4 separate regions of the Homo sapiens genome follow, and all the other regions are linked to region 2. The links are contacts of gene promoters, found by promoter capture Hi-C in blood cells and fetal thymus (Javierre and others, 2016). All regions are on one chromosome and are shown on one strand. Each heading gives the region's core, a stretch centred on a gene start or on the middle of the fragment in contact. The rest is flanking DNA. Distances are from core to core; before and after follow the strand shown. Region 1 overlaps LINC01283 (long intergenic non-protein coding RNA 1283). Region 2 holds the start of MID1IP1-AS1 (MID1IP1 antisense RNA 1). Region 3 has its middle 4.0 kb from the start of LINC01281. Region 4 has its middle 55 kb from the start of LINC01283.

Evidence for each region. The method cuts DNA at HindIII sites, captures the fragments that hold promoters and counts their contacts. A CHiCAGO score of 5 or more calls a contact.
Region 1: a fragment that was not itself captured here is called in contact with the fragment with the promoter of MID1IP1-AS1 in region 2 in 1 of 17 cell types (M1 macrophages); the score reaches 5.0 in M1 macrophages.
Region 3: a contact is called between a fragment that was not itself captured here and the fragment with the promoter of MID1IP1-AS1 in region 2, in 2 of 17 cell types (non-activated CD4 T cells and activated CD4 T cells). The highest score is 7.1, in non-activated CD4 T cells.
Region 4: a contact is called between a fragment that was not itself captured here and the fragment with the promoter of MID1IP1-AS1 in region 2, in 1 of 17 cell types (non-activated CD4 T cells). The highest score is 5.4, in non-activated CD4 T cells.

What each region holds. Positions count from the first base shown.
Region 1 is chrX:39,429,596-39,432,743 of GRCh38, reverse strand. The region is part of intron 1 of LINC01283 (long intergenic non-protein coding RNA 1283); the gene reads left to right. Among named protein-coding and RNA genes, the nearest start is that of LINC01283, 3.7 kb to the left of the region's middle. The HindIII fragment of the contact is 1,582 bases long and covers 1,072-2,653 here.
Region 2 is chrX:38,802,515-38,805,921 of GRCh38, reverse strand. It overlaps MID1IP1-AS1 (MID1IP1 antisense RNA 1), which reads left to right and starts at 2,039. Exons shown (of 2, transcript NR_046706.1): 1 at 2,039-2,189. It overlaps MID1IP1 (MID1 interacting protein 1), which reads right to left. Exons shown (of 3, transcript NM_021242.6): 2 at 1,509-3,387; 3 at 1-1,239. The coding sequence starts at 975. The coding sequence ends at 424. RefSeq lists a silencer at 1,707-1,926 and enhancers at 1,729-2,570, 2,571-3,407. The HindIII fragment of the contact is 2,492 bases long and covers 361-2,852 here.
Region 3 is chrX:39,329,848-39,332,908 of GRCh38, reverse strand. No RefSeq gene overlaps it. Among named protein-coding and RNA genes, the nearest start is that of LINC01281, 4.0 kb to the right of the region's middle. The HindIII fragment of the contact is 461 bases long and covers 1,227-1,687 here.
Region 4 is chrX:39,487,828-39,490,975 of GRCh38, reverse strand. No RefSeq gene overlaps it. Among named protein-coding and RNA genes, the nearest start is that of LINC01283, 55 kb to the right of the region's middle. The HindIII fragment of the contact is 4,259 bases long and covers 1-3,148 here.

The DNA.
Region 1 (3,148 bases), core at 613-3,112, 630 kb before region 2:
TTTTCAAAGCAGCCCCTCTTCTGTTCTGTGAATCTGATGTTAAGCATGTTCCCTAAGAGGCTTTCCAATGCGTCCTACTCATGGAAGCTCCATGAGGGAAGGGATATCTTGGTCTCTTTTGTTCACTGATAAATTCCTATAACCTGCCACATAGTGGTGCTCTGTTATGTGTTTGCGAATGAATGAAGGAAGGAAGGAATAGATGAAACATCTCTTCAGGAACCTGGCTCCTGTCTCAAGTGAGACACACGTAGTGCCTCCCCTCTCCTTGTGGCCTGCCTGGGATTGAGCTGAAAAATGATTTTCATACACGTTGCCCTTATTATAACATCATCCCTCAGAGCGAAGCTCTCTGACCACCCTGAAGACCTGTATTTAATGTGATGAAAGGTGATTTAATGGAGTTGAGGAGAGCGAAGCATAAAGTGGACAGCCATTTCAGAAAAGCAAAGCAGTCTGTCCCTCCAAGGGGAAAGGGAAAAAAAAGGAAAAAAGAGGAAAAAATTCAACACCCTCCCCCAGAAGAGAGTGGAATAAGAAGACGTTTTGGTCAGCTCCATAGGAAGGCAAAAATGAAAGCCAGATAAGCCCAGAGGCCTCCCCTCCCTGGCAGCAGATAACTAACTTACCATTTATTTACCTTGGAGCTGATTATGTACTGGGTTGAGGCAGGCAGGGAGATTTTATTGACATTTGGTCTCCCTTCACACATTTTTGCGACAGCCAGACATCAGGGACTGAGCTGCAGGATATTAAAGGATTTGGAAAAGTTATCAAGGAATGGGACATATTTATCAAAGCCACAGTGATATTAGAAAGCTGGGCTGCTGCTACACCTGGGTCTGTTACTTGATTAAAAAAATAATAATGATTCATCCTCTGGCTGGCTTTTGCACCTGGGTGAATGCTGAGCAGTTCTGTAGGACCACCCTTGGCCAGGGATTTGCACATAAAGACCCTCTTTGGGCCTGGCAAAGATTGTAGGTGATAGATCACACTAGTGGCTGGGGGGTTTGTGCCTGCACCCATGCATGTGCACGTGTGATAAAGTCTTGTGTTTGTCAGGAAGCTTCTATTGGTGTGTTACCAGACCTCCCTGGGCCAGGCCAGTTTACATGATGGTCTTCAAATATGCCTGTGTACTCGGAGTATCTTTTATTTCTAAAAGATAACTAGTAAGAGTTTGTTGAGTGACCGAAGGATTGGTGCAAAAGGGGCCTCATGAAGGATCCCTAACCTGCCTCAACCACTGCATTTCTGGTGAATAGCAATTATGTAATACAAGGAATCTCCATCTTTTAACACCAGCAAGTAAGAATATCTCACAAGTCACCTCTACTTAGCTCTCCCCCCAATTTTTCCACATGAATTATTCAGCGTATGACTGTTTCAATATGTCTGTCTTTGAAAAAAGTGCTGGATGAACTTAAAGCAGCAAGAGGAAGTGCCTGCTTTGCAAAAACGATACCCACCTGCATATTTATCTTAAAAGGAAAGCCTTTAATGCATTCACTCAGGTGAAAATATCATGGATAGCAAGGACTGACCAATGGCCATCAGGATCCATGGGGTTAATCCGGGTTTTGCCATCTGATTCCAATCCATCAGGCCTGGCTATAAATTGCTTATATGTCTGGGTGATAAAAAGCAAATACAAATTTTCAAAAAGTTTAACCTTGCATGGTATATAAAGAGAATACATAATATTCTCAAGCATAAATATGTCTCAAGACAAACTCATTGCATATACCCAGAATACATAATGGAGCTTACTGAGACATATTTTCCCCCTAGCAAGAAAAAGCCAGAAATTCTGCAGTAAACTGTGTAGTTTCTGCAACTCAGAAATGGGACCTATGCCTCTAACTCTTGATATCCTTCTAAAATGGCACGAAGTCCAGCTGAGGGAGAGGATGAAATCTGGCTGAAGCTGGAGGATGGGAGACCTGGGACTCCAGCTGGCTTCTTGGGGAGCTTGGCTAAAATCATTTCACGTGATTGATTTCCAATTTCTGCATCTGGAAATAGAGGAGGCTGATCCAGAAACTGACGGTTTCTAAGGCGGTGCTTCTCAAAATCTACTGGACAGGCAAATCCCCTGGGAATCTTGACAAAATGCAGATTCTGATTGGGTAGGTCTGGGACGGGGCTTGGAATATGGAATTCTCCTTTTCTTTTCTTTTTTTCTTTCTTTCTTTCTTTCTTTTTTTTTTTTTTTGAGACGGAGTCTTGCTCTGTCACCCAGGCTGGAGTGCCCTGGCACCATCTCAGCTCGGCTCACTGCAACCTCCGTTTCCTGGATTCAAGCGATTCTCCTGCCTCAGCCTCCCTAGTAGCTGGGATTACAGGTGCACTCCACCATGCCCAGCTAATTTTTGTATTTTTAGCAGAGATGGGGTTTTGCCATGTTGGCCATGCTGGCCTCGAACTTCTGACCTCAGGTGATCCGCCTGCCTTGGCCTCCCAAAGTGCTGGGATTACAGGTGTGAGCGGAATTCTCCATTTCTAGTATGCTGCCTGGTGATGCCGATGCTTGCTGGTCTGATCTGAGAACCACACCTTGGGTAACAGGGTTCTAGCGTTCTCCCCAGATCAGATGGACTCAGGCAGTGACTCTCACCCTTGGCTTCACATTGCAATCGCCTGGGAAGCTTTAAAAAAATGTCATTGCCCAGACCACATCTCAGGCTGATTAAATCGGAATAATCTTTGGGGATGTGACCCAGGCAAAAATATGTTTTAAAGCTCCCCAGGTGGTTCCAAGGTGTGGCCAAGGTTTAGTAGAACTGGTTGAAGGTACCACATGGCTGCACAGACTTTGATGGAGCCAGCTGTCTTGAGGTTTGTGGTATTATCACCCGTACTTGTGATAATCCAATAAATGGAGCAGATACTATTTACTGACATGGTAGTCTACACTGTGCAATGGTGTCATAGAATCATGGCCTCCTCCCTAAACAGGTGAGGATGCTAACTGAGCCTGTTTGTCCAGGAGACCAAGGCTGATGGGTTCCATGAACTTCTACAGGTAATGGGATGACAAAGTGAAACATTTTTTCTTTGTAATGCTTCTTACCAAAGGCCAGATTAGAGGTTGCCAATGCAGATGCATACAAGGGCTGGGTGGGCAGCAGAAACCATAAATCAG
Region 2 (3,407 bases), core at 790-3,289:
CTACGCGCCCCGCCTTCCCCAGCACCCAGCTCCGGGCTGCTTTCCCAAGTGTGGCAACCCAGCGCCGCGCCCTGGTATGGCCCCTTCTCGGGCCCTCTCCTCCGAAAAGAACAGAAAAGAAACCCCAGGAAAGGCACAGGCTGAATGCAGGGCGTCAGCCCAGTCCCATTCCCACCAACATAGAATGCAGGCCCCCTCCCAGGAGGTTCCTTGGGCCCTCCCATCTCCGGCCACCATTTTCTTCTCTCTCACACGTGGCCCCCTCCTCCACGCAGCCCCACCGCGCCTCCTGCACGTACGCAGCCCCCCAGTTTGCAGTCTGCCCTTCCCGCCCCCCAGCCAGGAAAAAAAAAAAAAGCTTTGAGGAATGAGAGAGGGTGAGATGGGTCGAAGAAGGTGCTGGGCAGCCACGGGCGCCACGCCTCAGTGGCCCCAATTGCCGAAGCCGATCTCCTGCTTGTATCTGTTAGTGAGGATGTTGGCTTTGCGCGTGAGTTTCGAGAGCACAGTGTGCAGCCCGCGCAGGTGGTAGTGGAACTGCTGTTCCAGGTCTTCTTCGCCGGCGTCCGCACCCTCCAAGTGGCCCAGGTCCACCAGGATGTCCTTGGACTTCCAGGCACTGCCCTCCTCGCTCCCAGCCGGTGGAGGCGGCTGGTGCAGGACCCCCCACTCGATGTCGTTGCGGATGGACTTGAGAAGCACGTAGTGGCTGTACATGTCCCGAGAGGGCGCGAAAAAGCTGCCATTGGCGCTTCCCGAGTCGGGGACTGGGGGCGTGCGCTCCTCCAGGCAGCCGCCACTGCCGCCTACCTCCACGCCAACATCGTTGTCTAACCCGGGGTCAGCCAGGGGCACGTCGCGCAGCAAGCTGGGCACCATCACCGTCTGGTCCATGTTGTTCACGGCGCCAATGAAGCGATTCATGGCGTTAAAGAGCGAGTGCTTCTGGTTGTAGGTGTCGCAGATTTGCATCATGGTGGCCGCGCGGACGTTGGAGCGCAGGGACGCAGGGGCACGGGGATGGTCGGCCGGGTCAAGGGGATGCCCGCCTTCACGCGCTCTCCAAGGCCCGCGCTGGGGGCCTGGCTATAGCCGGTGTGGCGGGATTCCCGGCACTCCTCCGCCCTCGCCAACTCTCGTCTCGCTGGCAGACCGGCCCTGCGGGATGGGCGGCTTCTCCTGGCTTTGGCGCCCGGAAACTCGCGATGGCTGAGGGTGCTCTGTGGGTCGAGCCCTGGCCTGTTTGATACACGGAGACGAAAGAACAGATTAGATTATTCACCCTGCTAGGGGGCCTGGCGCCCTTGCCCGCGCGCACCCCCTTCTCTGGCTACAGCTCGTCCGGGACGGCGCCTGGGTGGCTCCCCGCGGCTGGGCAGTCCCACCTCCTCGCCCACCTACGGCCGCGGGGAGAAGGGTGTCCCCCCACCACCACAACTTCTCCCTCCGAAAAGCCTGAGCTCAAGCAACCAAGCTGGCCGGGGCAGCGATGGGGCGTGGGCACCCACCTCCTCTTGCGCCTTGAGACTCTCCTGCTCGTTGGCAATTCAGTGTTCTCGCTGCAAGCGGCTGCTACGCAAGGGCGCTGCTGCGGTCAGTGGCTGGACTGTGACTGCGGACGGCGGTGACTGCGTTGGCCCCCTACCCATCCCAGGTGCTCAATTTATAGTCCAGGAAAGGTGTCGCCGGCGCTCAGGGCCACCCCTGGTGTCTCCTCCTCCCGCCTCCCCCGGCAGCACCGAGATAAAAGGCCCAGGCCGGGATGACCGCGAGTAACACTCGCCCGGCCCTTTCTACAGCGGGGGCGGGGCGCGCCGGGCCAGCTCCGCCTCTCGCCTGATACCCGGGCTGAGGGAGGGCGCCGGGGCAGGCCAGGGCAGGGCAGGGCAGAGCAGAGGAGGAGGGATTGGAGCAGCTGGACCCCGCCAGCACCAAGCCCTGGGCAGGCCAGATGAGGAGGGCCGGGCACAGCGAGGGTCAAAAAGGCGTCGGCGTCCGGACCGACTGGAGGGTGGGGCTGGCATGTGGGGGCTGGGCGGGCCTTGCGCGCGCTCCCCGCGTGGGATGACCAGAATGCACGTGCCTTGGTTGCAGAGTGAGCCCCTCAGCCCCGAATCTGGAGTGGCCGCGGCCGGGAAACAGGAACCCGGGTTTATTATTAGCCGTCGGGGAAGAGGGGCCGGCAGCAGGTACAACTCCATCCTGGGACTCTTACGTAATAAAGGGTGACCGGGCATGCTGGGTGCACGTGGACGCGCGGTGCTCCCGCAGTGGCCCTGGCCTTGGTCAGCTATGGGGGGAGGGGAGCGTCAGAGGCTTTTGCCTCCCTCCTGGCGGGGTGGGATCTTTCCCAATCTTTCCTTTAACAGTGGTTGCCGGGGATGAAGAGGGGCACACTATCAGATCTGCTGATTCTTTGAAGAGATCTGCAAGTGGCAATGGGGAGAAGTCCATTTTTGTCCAAGTCGGCTACACAGTGATGCTGGAGAGCCTGGGCCATGTGGCCTTTTGGCTGCCAAGAGGCCAGGAGAGGGTGACAGTAGTTAGGTCTAGTCTTGGGTGTCTTTCACCATTTAACAGAGAAATGGGGAGGTGTCTAATTATTTTTGAGGGTGCTTGTGTGAAGTGTTCCTTTCAAAAGATAGTTCTTAAAGCACTGGGTCATTTAATAGGGCCTAAGCTATGTACCGAATCGCTGGATTTAACTTTTAAGAGCCTTGCACCTTGAATTTCACTTTGAGACTTCCAAACCACAGCCTATTTAATTTTTCCCATCTCATGTCCCTTGCCATATTCCTCATCCACCAGTCCTCTCTGGCAGTCCTACAATTATGTTCAATAAGATTCAAGCTTCTCATTTTAAATCCCTTTTCTCGGCCTGAAACGGTGGCTCACGCCTGTAATCCCAGCACTTTGGGAGGCCGAGGCGGGCGGATCACAAAGTCAGGGGTTCCAGACTAGCCTGGCCAACATGGTGAAACCCGGTCTCTACTAAAAATACAAAAATTAGCCGGGCGTGGTGGCCAGCGCCTGTAATCCCAGCTACTCGGGAGGATGAAGCAGGAGAATTGCTTGAACCCAGGAGGCGGAGTTGCAGTGAGCCGAGATCGTGCCACTGCACTCCAGCCTGGGCGACAGAGCAAGACTCTGTCTCAAATAAAAAAAAAAAAGATCCCTTTTCTCTAAAACTTAACAGAGGTCTCTGTCCCTAGTACAGTTTTTTCCCACGGGACAAAAAATGCCTAAGGAAGGGAGAACATAATAAAGGGGTTTCTTTCTCTCCCTCTTTCTTTCACATTAAGACCTACACTTAAATATTTTCCATAGAAAACCATCTTCCTAATTGTCTTTTGAATGAAATTCTGACTTGGTGCCACAAGGACTAATCTGTTGACAAAAAACAAACA
Region 3 (3,061 bases), core at 208-2,707, 530 kb before region 2:
CGGTATCATCCAATTATCTATTCAGTTATCCATCCATCCATCCATCCATCCATCCATCCATCCATCCATCCATCTACTCTTCCTTCCTTCTGCTTACTTATTCATCCATCTATCTGTTCATCTATTCAACAAACACTAATTAGACTACTTTTATGTGATAATGCTTCAGGTTCTGGATATAAAAAATGTAACTTTAGTATTTAGACCTCCACAGGCTTTGAGGGCAAATGAGGTGCTATGGTTTGGTTATTTGACCTTCTAAAACTTATGTTGAAATGTGATCCCCAATGTTGGAGGTGGGACCTGGTGAGAGGTGTTTGGGTCACAGGGACAGATCCCTCATGGTAATGAGTGAGTTCTTGTTCTAGTTCCTGTGAGAGCTGATTGTTAAAAAAAAAAAAAAAAAAAAAAAAAAAAAAGCCTGATTCCTCCTCCTCCTCTCTCTCTCTCTTGCCTCCTCTCTCACAATTGATCTGCACACACCAGCTCCCCTTTGCCTTCTGCCATTAGTGGAAGCTTCCTGAAGCCCTCACCAGAAACACATGCTGGTGCCATGTTTCTTGTACAGCATGAATAACTGTGAGCCAAATAAACTTATTTTCTTTATACATTGCCCAGCCTCGGGTATTCCTTTTATAGCAGTACTATTGGACAAGACATAAGTCATACTAGAATTTATATCTGTGTTAGGGTTCTCTAGAGAACCAGAATCAATGGGATGTGTGTGGGTGTGGGTGGGTGTGTGTTGGCGGGGGGAGAGAGGGAGACAGAGATACAGAGACAGAGATAGAGAGAGATTTATTTTAAGGCATTAGCTCACACAATTATGGAAGCTGGAAAGTCCAAAATCTGCAGGATAGGTTAGCAGAGGCTGAAGGCCCAGGAAAAAGCTAGTGTTCTGACAGAATTCCCTCTTGGTCAGAGAAGGTCAGATTTTTGCTCTATTCAAACCATCAGCTGATTGGATAAGGCCCACCCATATGAGGGAGGGTCATCTGCTTTATTCAAAGCCCACCCATTCAAATGTTAATCTCATCCAAAAACACCCTCACAGAAGCAACCAGAATAATGTTTGACCAAATATCTGGGCACTGTGATCCAGCCAAGTTGACACATACAATTAACCATCATAGTATTTAAGTTGCAACAGCATGTTGTTTCTACCGAAAAGGCTACAGGATGATAAAGTTTCCTCCAGGTTTTTCTGAGACTGCTCAGAGAAAGCTTTGACTGTGAGAAGAAGTCCACTCAGGTTTTGTAACTTTGGCATCTTAGAGGAGAACCACAACCAGTCAACCATTCAGGAGATGACTCTTCTTCATGGACCCTGCTCCAACGCTGCTGAGAAGATGTGGTTCCCCTGGGGACTATGGTCATACTCACAGTTCCACCACACATCAGTTCTTTCCGGCAGTGCCAACCCTGAAGTGCTAGAGTGCCAAAGTTGCATTGAGATCTAGAGTGAAAAGATATGGGGAAAGAATGACTTCCTCTCCAAACTTGGGTGGCTTTTTATCCCTTGGGTCCTGGAAAGTTCCACTTGTCTCTGTCTCACATGCTTTTATAATGAAATCAGCCTTTTCCATGTTGACCTTTACCCAAATGGTCTAACTGATTGCACTTTAAATATATAACCACAAACCTCGAAATAGCATTCTAACCACATGGCAAGCCTTCTTAGGAAGCTTGTTAAATTTGCCCTCTGATAAACCTACTTCACACTTTCTTCTCTTTCTTCAAACGTACATTTCCCCAACTCCTTACTCAAAAGCTTATGCTCTCATGTCATTCTTTGTTAACAAAGTGGAAATAATGACATGAAGCCTCCATATTTTCAACACTAACCCAACAAATTTACATGCTCTGATTTCCAAGTTACCAAGTTACCAAATCCAATGGACACTCTCCTTATCCCTCATTGTGCTGGTTCTCGCAGAAGCAATTGACACAGTTGGCCCTCCCTGCTTCTTCTTCTCTTTTAAATTTAAAATTTTTTTGAGACAGGGTCTTGCTCTGTCACCCAAGCTGGGGTATGGTGGCACAATCACAGGTCACAGCAGCCAGCTCAATCTCCTGGGTTCCAGCAATCCTCCCACCTCAGTCTCCCAAGTAGCGGGGACTACTGGTGCAAATCACCACACCTGGCTAATTAATTTTGTTTTTGTTTTTTGTAAAGACAGGGTCTCACTGTTTCCCAGGCTGGTATTGAACTCTTGGCCTCAAGCGATCTTCCTGCCTCAGCCTCCCAAGTAGCTTGGATTACAGGCACCAGCCACCATGCCTGGCCCTCCCTGCTTCTTAAAATACTTCCATACCTCATTTTTCATGACACAAATTTTGCTCTTTGTCTTCTACTCAACTTCTACAAAGATAACTCCAAGGTTTAGTCTCACAGTCATCTTTTCTTTATCTATACCTACACTCCTAGGTGATCGCATACAGTCTCATGACTTTGAATACTGAAGCATCTATATTCCAGATTTACATTTCCAGCACAGACCCCTCCAAGCTTATAGATAACCTGCTTAGTTTTGTTCATTTGGGTCCTCCAAAAAACAGACTGGATTACAAGTGCAAGAGATTTATTGGAGGAAAATCCTGTCAAGTAAAACAGCAGGTAGGGAGCTAGAGCAGGTGGAGCCTCCAGAGAGCAATGCAGGTCTGACACCTGTGGAAGGAGAGTGAAGGAAGGGGACTTGGGTAGAAAAAGTCTTGGACTGTAGCAGAATTCCAGAAAATGTCCAGCCAGGCTGATGAAGAGTCCTTGAGCCAAGGTTGCCTGTCAGAGGAGTCCCCATGTCCTGCAGGAGTGGACCTGCTTTAGTATCCCTGGTGTCTTCAGTCACTGCCTGGGAGCAGCCTGTGGCAAATGTGGCCTCAGTGTGCAATGTAGAAGGTGGGACCATCAATCAACTTTGCTTCATGCAGCAAGAGATCTAAGTGACACATTTTCACCACCCCAATATCAGTTAACATCTCTTCTTTAATTTCTAACAGACATCTCAAACTTAGCATAGAAAAAAAATGGAATTCTTAATTCTTAATTGTCCTCATCACATAT
Region 4 (3,148 bases), core at 296-2,795, 690 kb before region 2:
ACAGACTGTGGGACCCTTGGTTTGTACCTGCTCCCCTAGATCTTTAGTGGGAATAGTGCCCTTAGATGTGAGATTGTTGACTTTTTCCAAGAGTGACACCTTCAAGACAGTCATGGTCCAGATGGCAGGGCTGTACCAAGGGGCTGGAGGGTTGAGGTGGGCTTGGGGGTGGAGATGGTGGCCCTTTGAGAACTAAAGGGGGAAGAAGATTTGTGGTTTTGGTTCCAGTCATTCCAGTTCTGTGGGGCTACGCCCATGAGGCAAAGCTGCCTGTTCCCCTTGTCTAATGCACTGAAATCCAGATCAGTCAAGAGGCCCCAAGGCCCAGCCAGAATCCACTGGAGCTAGGGATGGGTGGGGCAGGCAGCCAAGCAGGCTGAATTAGTTTCCTGGGGCTGCTGTAACAAAATATCACAAACTGGATGGCTTAGAACCACAGAGATTGATGCTCTCCCAAATCGGGAGACCAGAAATTCAAAATCCAAGTGCCAGCAGGGCCATCCTCTCTCTGAAGACTCTAGGGGAGGATCCTTCCTTAACTCTTCCAGCTTCTGGTGGTTGCTGGCAACCCATGGCACTCCTTGGCTTACAGACGCATCACTCCAATCTGAGATTCCATCTTCACATGGTGATCTTCCCTCTATGTGTGTCTGTGTCCAAACTTCTCTCTTCTTATAAGGACACCCGTCATTGGATTTAGGGTCCACTTCATCTTAACTTGATTGCATCTACAAAGACCCTATTGCAGGAGGACAGGTCCCCAGGTGGCCTTGGCTGACCTAACTCCCCTCCACCCAGCAGCTTATAGTTCTCAGAATAATTGGAGAATATGCCAAGAATGCAATGTCTTCTGATAAGAAAGAACTGTCTGGAACAGCCTGGGCTCTGTCCTCAGTCCTTCTAGAACAGGCTCTCCTGTAATGCTTATTCTCAGCAATTCCAGTGATGTTCAGGTATAAAATCCAGGACCGAGTGTTTTTAGGGCCCCTCAGCTGCAACGTGACATGGGGCACATGCAGAAGAGACTCCATCCACCCTGAGCAGCTTTCCTGAGCCTTGGGGGACTGGCTTACTGTGGGTCCTAGGCTTCTCTTTTTTATTTCTGCCTATTACTCTGTGAGTAATAAACCTGCTTTGCTCGACTTATGTGAGTGTTCTGTCTCACTGGACTTACGCCAGTGGGAAAGGACCTTTGCACCCATTTCCAAACAAGACCACATTTTGAGGTTCTGGGTGAATATGGATTTGGGAGGGGGACATTATTCAACCCAGCACATCAGCCATCTTGAATTCCTGCCTCCTTCATCAGGTGAGTATTCAGGATGGCTGGGCCACAGTGCCATCAGGCCATGCTGAGGCCCACTTCCATGTCTCAGTCAGGTGTGTGCCACTGGTGGCCTGGAAGGACAGGCAGAAGCCCAAGGCCCTTTAGGGGTTGACAGAGCTGTGGGCAGCCCCAGTCTGTCAGAAGAGGGCTGAGGTTGGAGGCTGGCTATGGCTCACATGGGAAAGCTGATGATGGAGGGAAGTGGGCATTCCCTGCCCCGGCACTGAGCAGGAACGTCATCACTGGCCCTGCAGCTCCTGTGGCTTGAGTCCCACCTGCAGGTCCTTGCTGGCTTAAGAGCTCTGTCCTGGCAAAATAAGAACAACTGCTACATGGCAAGAGCCCCCGCAGAACTCTGGTGGCTTGCAAATGAATCTCTGAGAAGAGGAGTGGGGAACAAGAAGATATCTTGCATGCTGAAGCTCTGATTGTTCTATGGCAACTTCCCAGACGCTGAGAGAGCCTGTGTCTTGGATGTCCCCTCCTTCCCCACCTAGCTTTGAGCCTGCTTGCATATCCTGGCCTTCCACATTTTAAACCTTTAGGGGAACACTTTTCTGCCCTCTGACACTTATATTCTCCCTAATGATGACTTTGTGGACTCCCTTTGCTTATGTGCCCCTGTGCTGGCCCAAATTGGAGGATCTCTGGTCCCCATAGGCAGAAGGAGCTATGCCTATTTAGGAAAGGTGGCAGAGAGCCCGAGGGGCACATCCACTTCCTTTGGAAGTTCAGAGTCCCTGGAGCGGAGGTTGTGGGATTCCTGAGTTGGAGAGGACATTAACTGTCACCAAATCAACTTCCTTAGAGCTTTGAGTCCCTTCTCTGTGGCTGCTCCTCAGGGTTATCCCATGCTTGAAAAAATGCAGAAACAGGGCACTTGCTACCCCCAAGGCAGCCCAATTCATTTTTAGACAACTCTAATCTTTATCAAATTCGTCCTGATGCTGAGTCAGAATCTGCCTCCCTGGGCACTTCACCCCTTAATCCTGGTTTATCCACTGGGGCCTGGAGCGCAAGTATAATTCATCAAATCATCAGCTATCAGAGCTGGAGGCCACCAAGGCCAACCCCTCATCTTAAGTTCCCTTTCTTGCTCCAGATGCCACTTCCAGATGTACCAGCCTTGGCCAGAATTGTCTGTAGTTTGTATTTGTCTGCCTCTTCCCTGGATTTTAAGAGTATTTTATTTTTGTTTCCTTGGCAGACTTGGGTACCCGTTCTGAAAAACCAGGTTGGCCTTCTCAACCTAGGAAGGAAAGGAGGGTGGCAAAGGTGCCCTGCACAGGTATGACAAATGAAAGACTGGTGGCTATACTCACAAGCCCAAAGACTGGGGTGGGCAGGAGGCAGGCAGGCCTGTCTCCCCACCAACCTGAGGTCTGCATGGGACTGAAGGCTGCAGGCAGCTGTTCTCTCTGCCTGCCACCCCCATCCTCAATATAAAAGCACACCCATCATAGTATTTATAGAACTAGTAAATAAAGAATAAAATAGCAAGTGAAAGTAGGTTTTGATTGCCTACGTGTTGGTAAAACCCAGCTGGAATAATTTGATTCATGCATGGAAAAATGCCTCCGAAGCAGGGCCTTTTTTTAGTGTGCCGAAACTGAATCCCTCCAGCCGCAGATAGAAATTTCTGCTCCTATAGTTTGGCTCTAAGACTAAGAATTAAAATCTAAAATGAGATTCCAAGAGAACTAATTATTTGATCCCTCGAAATATACCAACTAGCCGTTTTCCAATCTTGCAGACAAAGCTGCTGAATGAAGGAAGAGATGATAACGCCCTCTTTGGCACCCAGCTCTTTCTGGGAGGCAC